Linked DNA regions of Homo sapiens: all the other regions are linked to region 1. Evidence: promoter capture Hi-C in 16 types of primary human blood cells and fetal thymus (Javierre and others, 2016). All regions are on one chromosome and are shown on one strand. The core of a region is centred on a gene start or on the middle of the fragment in contact, and the rest is flanking DNA. Distances in the headings are between cores, read along the strand shown. Region 1 has its middle 30 kb from the start of NUMBL. Region 2 holds the start of HNRNPUL1 (heterogeneous nuclear ribonucleoprotein U like 1). Region 3 holds the start of AXL (AXL receptor tyrosine kinase).

What was found. Contacts are between HindIII fragments. The CHiCAGO score rates a contact against its expected background, and 5 or more counts as called.
Region 2: a contact is called between the fragment with the promoter of HNRNPUL1 here and a fragment that was not itself captured in region 1, in 1 of 17 cell types (naive CD8 T cells). The highest score is 6.7, in naive CD8 T cells.
Region 3: the fragment with the promoter of AXL here is called in contact with a fragment that was not itself captured in region 1 in 2 of 17 cell types (naive CD8 T cells and total CD8 T cells); the score reaches 8.8 in naive CD8 T cells.

Annotation. Positions count from the first base shown.
Region 1 is chr19:40,658,431-40,662,082 of GRCh38, forward strand. No RefSeq gene overlaps it. Among named protein-coding and RNA genes, the nearest start is that of NUMBL, 30 kb to the right of the region's middle. The HindIII fragment of the contact is 1,671 bases long and covers 1,004-2,674 here.
Region 2 is chr19:41,262,799-41,266,450 of GRCh38, forward strand. HNRNPUL1 (heterogeneous nuclear ribonucleoprotein U like 1) reads left to right here and starts at 1,574. Exons shown (of 15, transcript NM_007040.6): 1 at 1,574-2,000. The coding sequence starts at 1,706. RefSeq lists enhancers at 6-545, 546-1,085, 1,086-1,624 and silencers at 1,630-1,869, 1,960-2,029, 2,050-2,099. The HindIII fragment of the contact is 17,682 bases long and covers 1-3,652 here.
Region 3 is chr19:41,217,129-41,220,780 of GRCh38, forward strand. It overlaps AXL (AXL receptor tyrosine kinase), which reads left to right and starts at 2,095. Exons shown (of 20, transcript NM_021913.5): 1 at 2,095-2,349; 2 at 3,508-3,652. The coding sequence starts at 2,265. RefSeq lists an enhancer at 1,236-2,060 and a silencer at 1,669-1,808. The HindIII fragment of the contact is 40,135 bases long and covers 1-3,652 here.

The sequences.
Region 1 (3,652 bases), core at 589-3,088:
GGGGAATTCAAAAAGTTGATGGAGAATGGAATTAAGAGATAAAAATTTTAAAAAAATCTTTATTTCTCACCATAAACTCCATCAAGGTCAAAGTCAAGACACTTTTGTAAACCATTATACCAGCCATTTAGTCTATCCCTAAATAACTGAGGGTCCCAGGAATTTAATCATGTCAGTGCAGCCTTTTTACATTTTCTCTTTCTTTTTTTTTTTGATGGAATCTCACTCTGTTGCTCAGGCTGGAGTGCAGTGGTATGATCTCGGCTCACTGCAACCTCTGCCTCCCGGGTTCAAGCCATTCTCCTGCCTCAGCCTCCTGAGTAGCTGGGACTACAGGCATGTACCACCACATCTGGCTAATTTTTTTTTTTTTAGTAGAGACGAGGTTTTGCCAAGTTGGCCGGGCTGGTCTCAAACTCCTAACTTCAGGTGATCTGCCCGCCTCGGCCTCCCAAAGTGCTAGCATTACAGTTGTGAGCCACTGTGCCAGGCCTTTTTTTTTTGTTCTTGTTGCCCAGGCTGGAGTGCAGTGGCATGATCTCGGCTCACTGCAACCTCCACCTCCTGGGTTCAAGTGATTCTCCTGCCTCAGCCTCCCGACTAGCTGGGATTACAGTCATGAGCCACCACACCTGGCTAATTTTTGTATTTTTTTTTTTAGTAGAGACAGGGTTTTGCCATGTTGGTCAGGCTGGTCTTGAACTCCCAACCTCAGGTGATCCACCCTCCTTGGCCTCCCAAAATGCTAAGATTACAGGCGTGAGCCACTCCGCCCAGCCCAGTCTTTTTACATTCTTAACTGAAGAAAAATGGGTGCCCTTCAAAGATTTTAAGATTAGGAAACAAAAAGTCAGAAGGAGCCAAATTGGGACTGCCAAGTGGATGCCTAATAATTTCCCATCAAAACTTGTAAAATTGCTCGTTTGATGAGGAGAATGAGCAGAAGCGTAGACATGCTGGAGAAGAACTCTCTGGTGAAGCTTCCCAGGCTTATTTCTACTAAAGCTTCGGCTAACTTTCTCAAAACACTCTCATAATAAGCAGATCTTATTATTCTTTGACCCTACAGAAAGTCAACCAGCAAAATGCCTTGAGCATCCCCAAAAACTGTTGCTATGACCTTTGCTCTTGACCAGTGTGCTTCTGCCTTGACTGGATCACTTCCCCGCTCTTGGCAATCATTCTCTGATTACGATTTGTCTTTAGGATTGCACCCGTGAAACCATGTATCATTTCCCGTTACAATCCTTCAAGGAAATGCATTAGGATCTCGATCTCACTTGTTTAGCATGTCCATGGAAAGCTCTGCTCTTCTCTGCAGCTGATCTGGGTGCGACCGTTCTGGCACCCATCGAGTGGAAAGTTTGTTTAGCTTTAATTTCAGTCAGAATTGTGTAAGCTGAGGCCGGGTGAGGTGGCTCAAGCCTGTAATCCCAGCAGTTCGGGAGAATGAGGCAGGAGGATCACTTGTGTCCAGGAGTTCAAGACCAGCCTGGGAAACCTAATGAGACCCCCATCTCTACAAAAAATACGAAAATTTAGTGTCAGGCCTCTGAGCCCAAGCTAAGCCATCATATCGCCTGTGACCTGCACGTATACATCCAGGTGGCCTGAAGCAACTGAAGAGCCACAAAAGAAGTGAAAATAGCCTTAACTGATGACATTCCACCATTGTGATTTGTTTCTGCCCCACCCTAATGATCAATGTACTTTGTAATCTCCCCCACCCTTAAGAAGTTTCTTTGTAATTCTTCCCATCCTTGAGAATGAACTTTGTGAGATCCGCCCCCTGCCCGCAAAACATTGCTCCAAACTCCACCGCCTATCCCAAAACCTATAAGAATTAATCATAATCCCACCACCCTTTGCTGACTCTCTTTTTGGACTCAGCCTGCCTGCACCCAGGTGAAATAAACAGCCTTGTTGCTCACACAAAGCCTGTTTGGTGGTCTCTTCACAGGGACGCGTGTGACACTTAGCTGAACGTGCTGGCACGCACCTGTAGTTCCAACTACTTCGGAGGCTGAGGTGGAAGGATCGCTTGAGCCCAGGAGGTTGAGGCTGCAGTGAGCCACAATCTCACCACTGTACTCAGCCTGGGCGACAGTATGAGAACCCTGTCTCAAAAAAAAAAAAAAAAAAAAAGAAAAAAGAATTGTGTAAGCTGTACCAATTGAGATGTCTATGGTGTTGGCTATTGTTTCTGCTGTTAACTGTAAGTCCTCTTTAATTAAGGCATAAACAAATTTAATTTTTTTCTGCAAAAATTGATGTGGATGGTATGCCACGGTGGGCTTCATCTTCAGCATGACCCAGGCTGGAGTGCAGTGGCGCAATCACGGCTCACTGCAACCTCTACCTCCCAGACTCAAGTGATCCTCCCACCTCAGCCTCCTGAGTAGCTGGAACTACAAGTGTGCACCACCACACCCAGCTAATTTATGTATTTTTTGTACGGATGGGGTTTCACCATGTTACCCAGGCTGGTCTCGAATTCCTGAGCTCCAATGATCCGCTGGCCTCAGCCTCCCAAAGTATTGGGATTACAGGCGTGAACCACCACGCCCGAACTTGTCCCTTCTTAAAACGAGTTATCCATTTGTAAATGGCTGATTTCTCTGGGGCACTGTCAAGTTTTTGGAAAACATCAATGATTTCATCATTCTTCCACCCAAGCTTCACCATCAATTTGATGCTTGTTCTTGCTTCAATTTTAGAATTCGTGTTGCTCTGATAGGGGCTCTTTTCAATCTGATGTTTTATTTTAGTGTCTCAAACTAGGTCCTGTTCAGACAAGTTATAACAAGTTAGTATGAATTTATTTTGGTGCAAAAAAAAAAAATTGAACTCCATGCATAGTTTTTTCATAATACACATTTTCCATGAATTTTTGGAAGACCCTTCTTTTTCTCTCTTTTTTTTTTTTTTTTTTTTTTCTGTAGAGATGGTCTTGTTCTGTCACCCAGGCTGGAGTGCAGTGGCACAATCATGGCTCACTGCAGCCTCGACCTCCTGGGCTCAAGCAATCCTCCCACCTCAGCTTCCTGTTACTGGGACTATAGGTGTGCACCACCACACCTTGATAATTAAAAAAAAAAATTTTTTTGTAGAGATCGGGGTGGGGGGGGGGGTCTCACTATATTTTCCAGGCTGGTCTTGAACTCCTGGCCTCAAGTGACCCTCCCCAATCAGCCTCCCAAAGTGCTGGGATTACAGGCACAAGCCACAGTGCCTGGCCAATAAATGTTTTTTGAATGAATGAAGAAATTAGTGCATGGACATATTTTCCCATCAGCTATTACAATAACCAGACTCTGAGTTCCCTGAAGGCAGGGCCTGTGAGTTTCATTGTGTACCCTCAGCCCTCAATAGCTGATAAAAATAAATATTCAGAAAATGCTTGTAAAATGAAGAAGAGAATATGTATGGGACAGAAAGTAGACCAGTGGTTGCCTGGGGCTGGGACAGGGAATAGGGAGCGACTGCAAATGGGCAGAAGGGATCTTTTCAGAGTGATGGAAATGTTCTTGAATTGGCTGTGATGGCTGCAGAACTGTAAAATCACCCAAAATCAGTAAATCACTTATAATAGGTGAATTTTATGACAGGTAGATTATACCTCAGTAAAGCTGTTAAAACAAAACCAGTGTTG
Region 2 (3,652 bases), core at 324-2,823, 600 kb after region 1:
GGAGGCCGAGGCGGGCGGATCACTTGAGGTCAGGAGTTCGAGACCAGCCTGGCCAACATGGTGAAACCCCGTCTCTACTAAAAATACAAAAATTAGTCGGGCATGGTGGCGGGGACCTGTAATCCCAGCTACTCGGAAGGCTGAGGCAGGAGAATCGCTTGAACACGGGAGGCGGAGGTTGCGGTGAGCTGAGATAGAGGCCCTGCACTCCAGCCAGGGTAACAAGAGCGAGACTCCGTCTCAAAAAAAAAAAAAAAAAAAAAAGAACAACAAAAAAAAGAACTGGATGCGTCTGATCTGACGCACGCCTGTTTGTTTACGACTGCGGGGTGTGCCTTTGTCTGAGTAGAGATAGTGTGTGGCTTTTGCGGGCTTAACGTGTGGCTCAGGAGGCAGTGGGAGTCTGCATCATGTATCCCGATTGCGTCTTACTCGAGTTTTGTTTTGAGTTAGAGGCGACAGGTGGTGCAGCGTTAGACACTGGGAAGCTCTGTGGCTTTTGTATTCCTGAGCGCGAAGGTTAATGACGGATCCGTGGGGTTGAGCTTGTCGGTACAGACGCCAGACAGCCCGATTTACGGGAACAGCCGATTAGAGGATTCGGGAGAGCGGTCGGTGAACTTCTGGATGTCTTTCGGGAGGGGAAGGCTCTATGGTCGCGTGCAGAGCGCCCGTTCCACGTCAGGTACCCGACCATAGAGCAAGGCGGCCGCGGACTACCCAAGGGAAGGGGAGGCCGTGTCCTTTACAACTTGCCTCCCGTTGTTAGTCTAGTTTCTATAGCCAAACCTTCGGGACTCTCTCAACTCAAAATTTTGCTTTTCCTAAAGGCAACTGGGTTCCTTCCAGATTACGAACTGTGTATCCACTTAATCTCTATTTCGTATACCTCCTCCTACAGCGAAATTTGTGAGGCAGTCCTCTGAAGCACGGCCAATCTGGTGAACTTTTCCTAAAATGAGCCATCGCTACCAGCTTTAGTGAGCTAAGACAATAACTGCGATTGGTGGGCAGATTGTTTTGAAACCGCCCTAACGGCAAGGGGCGGGCTCCTGGTGAATTCATCTCTTTCCGGTTTCTTAAAGGCAACAGGAAGGAGGGGTTTCTGCCGACCCTCCATTTGATTGGTTCTAGTGGTTTTACCCGCTCGGACTCCTCAAGGGGCGGGAGATGTACACCAATCGGAATGTGTGTTACAGAGACACTTAGTTTGATGAAAGGACTGCGCAGGAAAGGCCGTGGGACACTCATTCTGAGATCTTACCGTTGATTGGACCAAATTGTTACTCCCTTATTTTCATTGGACCTTACGGCAGCCGGCGCGCGAGAGTTACCCAATCAGCAAGCGCTCCGCCTCCTGCCTTTTCCCGCCCTCCGCTCCGGCCTCGGCTTCGACGTAGGCCAACGCTTCCTCCCCAGTAGCTCCTAGGCCTTCTCGTGGCCGTTGTTTTGAAAACGGCGCTCTGATTGGCTAGGTTTCCGGGCCCGCGCCCGTTGCCCCACGCACTGACCAATTGGCACTCATGTAACATCGGACGAGGCACGAGTGAGGGGGGAGGCGGTGGCGGCGGCCATTTTGAGCCGCTGCCGCCATTGGAGTGGGCCCCCCCCCTTTCCCCCTTCGCCTCCTGACAGGAAAGGTTTAAGGGGGACAGAGCCCTGGGAGGCCGGGCCGGGCTCGGGGGCCACCCCGGGGGCCCGGGCCATGGATGTGCGCCGTCTGAAGGTGAACGAACTTCGCGAGGAGCTGCAGCGCCGCGGCCTGGACACTCGAGGCCTCAAGGCCGAGCTTGCTGAGCGGCTGCAGGCGGCGTTGGAGGCCGAGGAGCCTGACGACGAGCGGGAGCTCGACGCCGACGACGAACCGGGGCGACCCGGGCACATCAACGAGGAGGTCGAGACCGAGGGGGGCTCCGAGCTGGAGGGGACCGCGCAGCCACCGCCGCCCGGGCTGCAGCCGCACGCGGAGCCCGGCGGCTACTCGGGGCCGGACGGACATTGTGAGAGTGCGCGGGGCGGGGGCCGGGGAGCCCGGAGCCTGGGCCGAGGAAAGGGCTGTGGGACGCGGGAGTCCAGCGCCTGAGGTCGGGGAGACGACCTGAGGATCGGGGGATCCCGCTACCCGCCGCCGAAAAGGATCTGGGGACCAGGGCCCCAGCACGACCGGAGGGTGGATCCTGACACTCAGTGCAGGGGGGACACTGGGGGAGGGGCCTCTGGGTTTCGGAGGTGAGGGACGGGGGTGGCGGGGAGGATTCCGTACCGTAGGGATCGGAGACCGGAAACTGCTTTCTGGAGCCGAAGAGAGTCGGAAGAACAAGAGGTTTTCCGTTTGGGTTGGGGAGGGTCTCGAAAATGGGGATCCTAGGGTACGGAGCTCCGTGGGCTTGGCGGTCGTGCTAGCCCAGCGTGTGGGCTGGGGGGTGGGGAGCCGTGTTTCCAGGGTGGGGAAGGAATGTCCAGGTGTGCGGGGCTGCGAGAGTTCTGAGGAAGGAGGATCCTGGAATATGCCGCTGGATGCGATCCTGGGCGTTCTCCTATTTGGGTACGGGGGTGGGTGGGAGAGGTGGAGGCGCTGGTGTCTGTGGCTGGGGAGGGTCCTAATGGACTCAGTGCTTTGGAGTTTGGCTAGTGAGCATTTAGGGGCTGCGGGAGATTGAACTAGGGGGCACCCCCATCTCTCTTCCGGGGCTGGAAGGCCACCCTTGAAGCAGGCACAGCCTGGACATTAGGTGCTGGGAGATCTGGGGACTTTCTGGTTGGCTTCTAGAAGAGGTATAGGGAGCCCTGGTGTCCAGAGGCTGGCGGGGGAGAGGATGCTTTCCTGGACAAAGGATCTGGGGGTCTAGAGCTAAGAAAACTGAGGGCAAATAACTCTTGAGGCTGCTGCTGACTGGTCTGGAGCTAACTGTGGGGTTTTTGGAGAACAGAGGGTAGCTGGGGGTGGGATGGGGGCAGATGAGTTGGTAACATTCCAAGTGGATGAAATATGTGGCGGGAGACAGAGGATCCTGTGTCCAGCACAGGAGTACGTATCTGGCTTAGCGAATATGGGGAGGGGGGAGGCCGTAGGGAGCAAAGAGAAAGAAACCTGTTGACTTCACTGGAGGCCTCAGAGTGGAGTGTGGGGAATGTTTCTGGACCTGAGCGTCTCCAGGAGAAATCTCGACGGTTCCCAGAAGCAGTTATTTGTGTACCCAGGGAGTGGGGGCCCTCGGGGAGCAGCACGGAACTCTTCATCAGCCAGGAGCTGTGACTCTGGGAATGGGTTCGGGTAGACCTGCGGTTGTCTGAGGAGAGGAAAACCTGATATGGGACGGCGTGAATCTTCAGTTAGAAAAAAAGCAGCTTTCGGGCCGAGTGCAGTGGCTCACGCCTGTTATTCCAGCACTTTGGGAGGCCGAGGCGGGCGGATCACGAGGTCAGGAGTTCAAGACCAGTCTGGCCAGCATAGTGAAACCCTGTCTCTACTAAAAATACAAATATTAACCGGATCTGGTGGTGTGCGCCTGTAGTCCCAGCTACTCGGGAGGCTGAGGCAGGAGAATCGCTTGAACTTGGGAGGGGGAGGTTGCAGTCAGCCGAGATTACGCCATTGCACTCCAGCCTGGGCAACAAAAGTGAAACTCCGTCTCAAAAAAGAAAAAAGCAG
Region 3 (3,652 bases), core at 845-3,344, 560 kb after region 1:
GTTGGGGACAAAGTGCTGCAGGAGGTTGCTCCAAGTCCTCTGAGGGGGCTCTTTGGGTGAGAAAGCGAGAGAAGCCTGGGGAGGCGAGGGGAGGGTCACAGAAACATAAGGAGTTTAGGGTTCTGCTGAAAGGTTTGGGGCAGAGGTGGGAAAGGGTTTGGTTTGAGATTGGGAAGAAGCCTTCTGACTGTTGAGTGGGAGACAGGTTGGAAGGAGCAACAGAAGCCAGCAGCCCATGGCCGGGCACAGTGACCCACGCCTGTAATCCCAGCCCTTTGGGAGGCCGAGGCGGGCAGATCACGAGTTCAGGAGTTCCAGACCAGCCTGGCCAACATGGTGAAACCCCGTCTCTACCAAAAATACAAAAATTAACCTGGCATGGTGGTGCACACCTGTAATCCCAGCAACTCAGGAAGCTGAGGTGGGAGGATCACTTGAACCCAGGAGATGGAGGTTGCAGTGAGCCGAGATCGAGCCATTGCACTCCAGCCTGGGCAACAAAGCAAGACTGGGTCTCAAAAAAAAAAAAAAAAAAAAAGACACAGCCCAGGGAGACAACGGTGAAGGGCCCTAAGTGGCCAGTGACAAGGAGCTGGGAGCTTGCCCTGAGGGCAGCAGGAGGCCATGGGCAAGCAGAGAAGGGACAGGGTAGGATTTGACTTTCAGAAACAGTCCTCTGGTTGCTAAATGGGAGAAAGGAGTGACAGTAGAGGCAGGAGAAGGCAGGATCAGACGGGGGTGCTGGGAAGGGGCAGGTAGAAGAGACATCAGGAGGCCAAACAGATAGGACTTTATGATGCACCGTAGGTATACCAGTACCCAAACACAGGTGGCCAAGAGCAGAGGGATAGACGCCCAGCCTCCTCCTCACAGACATCCAGGCATGCAGAGCCCTCCACGTGCCAAACACACAGGGCCGAGGAATGGAAGTGCAGCAGAGCCGATACGCAGGCAGCAGATCTGCAATAACCAGGACACACAGTCCCACCAGAAGGAGAGAGCAGTGGAATGATCAGGGCTCACTGCAGCCTCGATCTCTTGGACTCAAGCGTTCCTCTCACTCCAGCCTCCCTAGTAGCTGGGACCACAGGCACACGCCATGATACCTGGTTAAGTTTTAATTTTTAAACTTCTTGTAGAGATGGGGGTCTCAGTGCATTGACCAGTCTGGTCTCGAACTCCTGGGCTCAAGCGATCCTCCCACCTTGGCCTCCCAAAGTGCTGGGATTACAGGAGTGAGTTACTGTGCCCGGCCAACAACTATTCTTATTCCCATTTTACAGATGGACAAACTGAGGCTCAGGAGGCCAGTCACTTGCCTGTAGCCCACAGTTAGTGGTAGCACTGGGATTCCAACTTGGGTCCCCTTCATGTCGCCTGTATTTGGTGTCCCATTTAGGCGTCCATGCAGGTTTTGGCGTGTCTGAAGATCTGTGTCTCCCCAAGTAAGTGTCCCCCATGGATGCCCACCCAGCCGTGTCCTCCTGTCTCTGAGGTTTCTCCAGGAATCGAGCTCCTGGCCTGGCTTGTCTGAGTGTGTCTGTGGGCCAGTAGCATGCCCCTGCCCGTCTGGGTCCCTCTGCGTGTCTCTGCTTGTCCTAGCCTGTGTGTGTCAGTGACGTCTAAGAGTGTGTGTGCGTGCGTGCGTGCGTGCGTGTGTGTGTGTGTGTGTGTGTCCTTGTCCGAGGAGCCGAGAGAGTGAGGGGGAATGAAGGGCCAAGGAGGCCTGGCTGGGGCTGGGCTGGGGGTGGAGGCGGGGAGAGGGGCGTCACGGCCTGAGCTGAGAGGGGAGTGGAGTTCTGGAGGAATGTTTACCAGACACAGAGCCCAGAGGGACAGCGCCCAGAGCCCGGATAGAGAGACACGGCCTCACTGGCTCAGGACAGGGGGCACAGCCACCAGGGTCCCCTTCCCCCTCCTCAGCTCCCTCCCTGGCCCCTTTAAGAAAGAGCTGATCCTCTCCTCTCTTGAGTTAACCCCTGATTGTCCAGGTGGCCCCTGGGCTCTGGCCCTGGTGGGCGGAGGCAAAGGGGGAGCCAGGGGCGGAGAAAGGGTTGCCCAAGTCTGGGAGTGAGGGAAGGAGGCAGGGGTGCTGAGAAGGCGGCTGCTGGGCAGAGCCGGTGGCAAGGGCCTCCCCTGCCGCTGTGCCAGGCAGGCAGTGCCAAATCCGGGGAGCCTGGAGCTGGGGGGAGGGCCGGGGACAGCCCGGCCCTGCCCCCTCCCCCGCTGGGAGCCCAACAACTTCTGAGGAAAGTTTGGCACCCATGGCGTGGCGGTGCCCCAGGATGGGCAGGGTCCCGCTGGCCTGGTGCTTGGCGCTGTGCGGCTGGGCGTGCATGGCCCCCAGGGGTGAGTGATGGGGGCTCCTTGGGGCAGGGATCCCCTCGGAGGGGCTGGGGCAGGGGTAGGAGGTGGGGGATGATGGCAGGTGTGGGGGGCCTGGGCTGGCTTAGGGAGTTTCCTTGGGACCACAGAAAAGGGACTTCAAGGGAGGGAGACACAGACTCAGAGACACCAAGTGCGGCAGAGGGAGAGAAAGACTGAGAGAGGAACTGAAGGGCAGGGGGGACAGAAGAGAGGACCCGGAGAGACAGACAGACAAGGAGAAGCTGAGGGCAGGGGTGGGGGCTGGACCTGAGAAGGGGGCCATGGGGAGAGGGGCTGAGCTGAGGGTCGCCAGGAAGGAAGAAATCTTTCCGAAGGGGCACCGAGTCAGGCAGTGGGATGAGGAGGGCTCTGGAGCCCTGGGGGAAAACGCTTCTCCCTGCCAACACCACCCCCCTGACCCGCCACTTGTCCCTACCCCACCAGTCCACTCCATCTCTGGGGAGGAGGCTCTCACTTTGTCTCTCTGTCTCTGCCTCCAGCTCTGCTATCTCTGTGGGTCTCTGTTTCTCTCTCTTTCACAGTCTCTGCCTTTATCTCTCCCTGCTCTCTGAGTCTCTCTCTCTCTTCTCAGCCTCCCTCTGTGACTGTATCCCCCCTCCGCCCCCACCTTTTCTTCTCTCTTGAGGGCTGTTTCTTCATTTTTTCTGTCTTGCCTTGTATCTGTGCTCCTCTCTGTCTCATCTCCCCTGCCTTTCTCTGGCTTCTCCCTCCGCCACCACCCTTATCTCCCCCCACCACCACCCTTATCTCTCTCCCCCAACCCCTGATTCTTCCCCTCCATCCACCAGCACCAGCGCGACCTGTTAAGTCTCTAGAGACCTAAGAGAGGACGGAGGGGGCAGGGGCTGGCCCTGCCAGGCAGTGCAGGGCGTGGGAGGCTGCCAGATCCCGAGCCTCCTTCCCGACGGGATGGACGCTAGATCCCAGTCCCTTGGGAGGGCTCCCGTCCTCCTCTCAGAGCCTCCGCCCTCCACCCCACTCTGAGGTCACTCTGCAACTATGTCGGCCTAAGGGCCTGGCGGGGTCCTGGCCGCCGGTGGGCAGGCAAGGACAGGGTGGAACTGAGGGCCGGAAGGAGCTGGGGGGTTCCTAAGCTAACTCTTCCCATCTCCCCTCCAGGCACGCAGGCTGAAGAAAGTCCCTTCGTGGGCAACCCAGGGAATATCACAGGTGCCCGGGGACTCACGGGCACCCTTCGGTGTCAGCTCCAGGTTCAGGGAGAGCCCCCCGAGGTACATTGGCTTCGGGATGGACAGATCCTGGA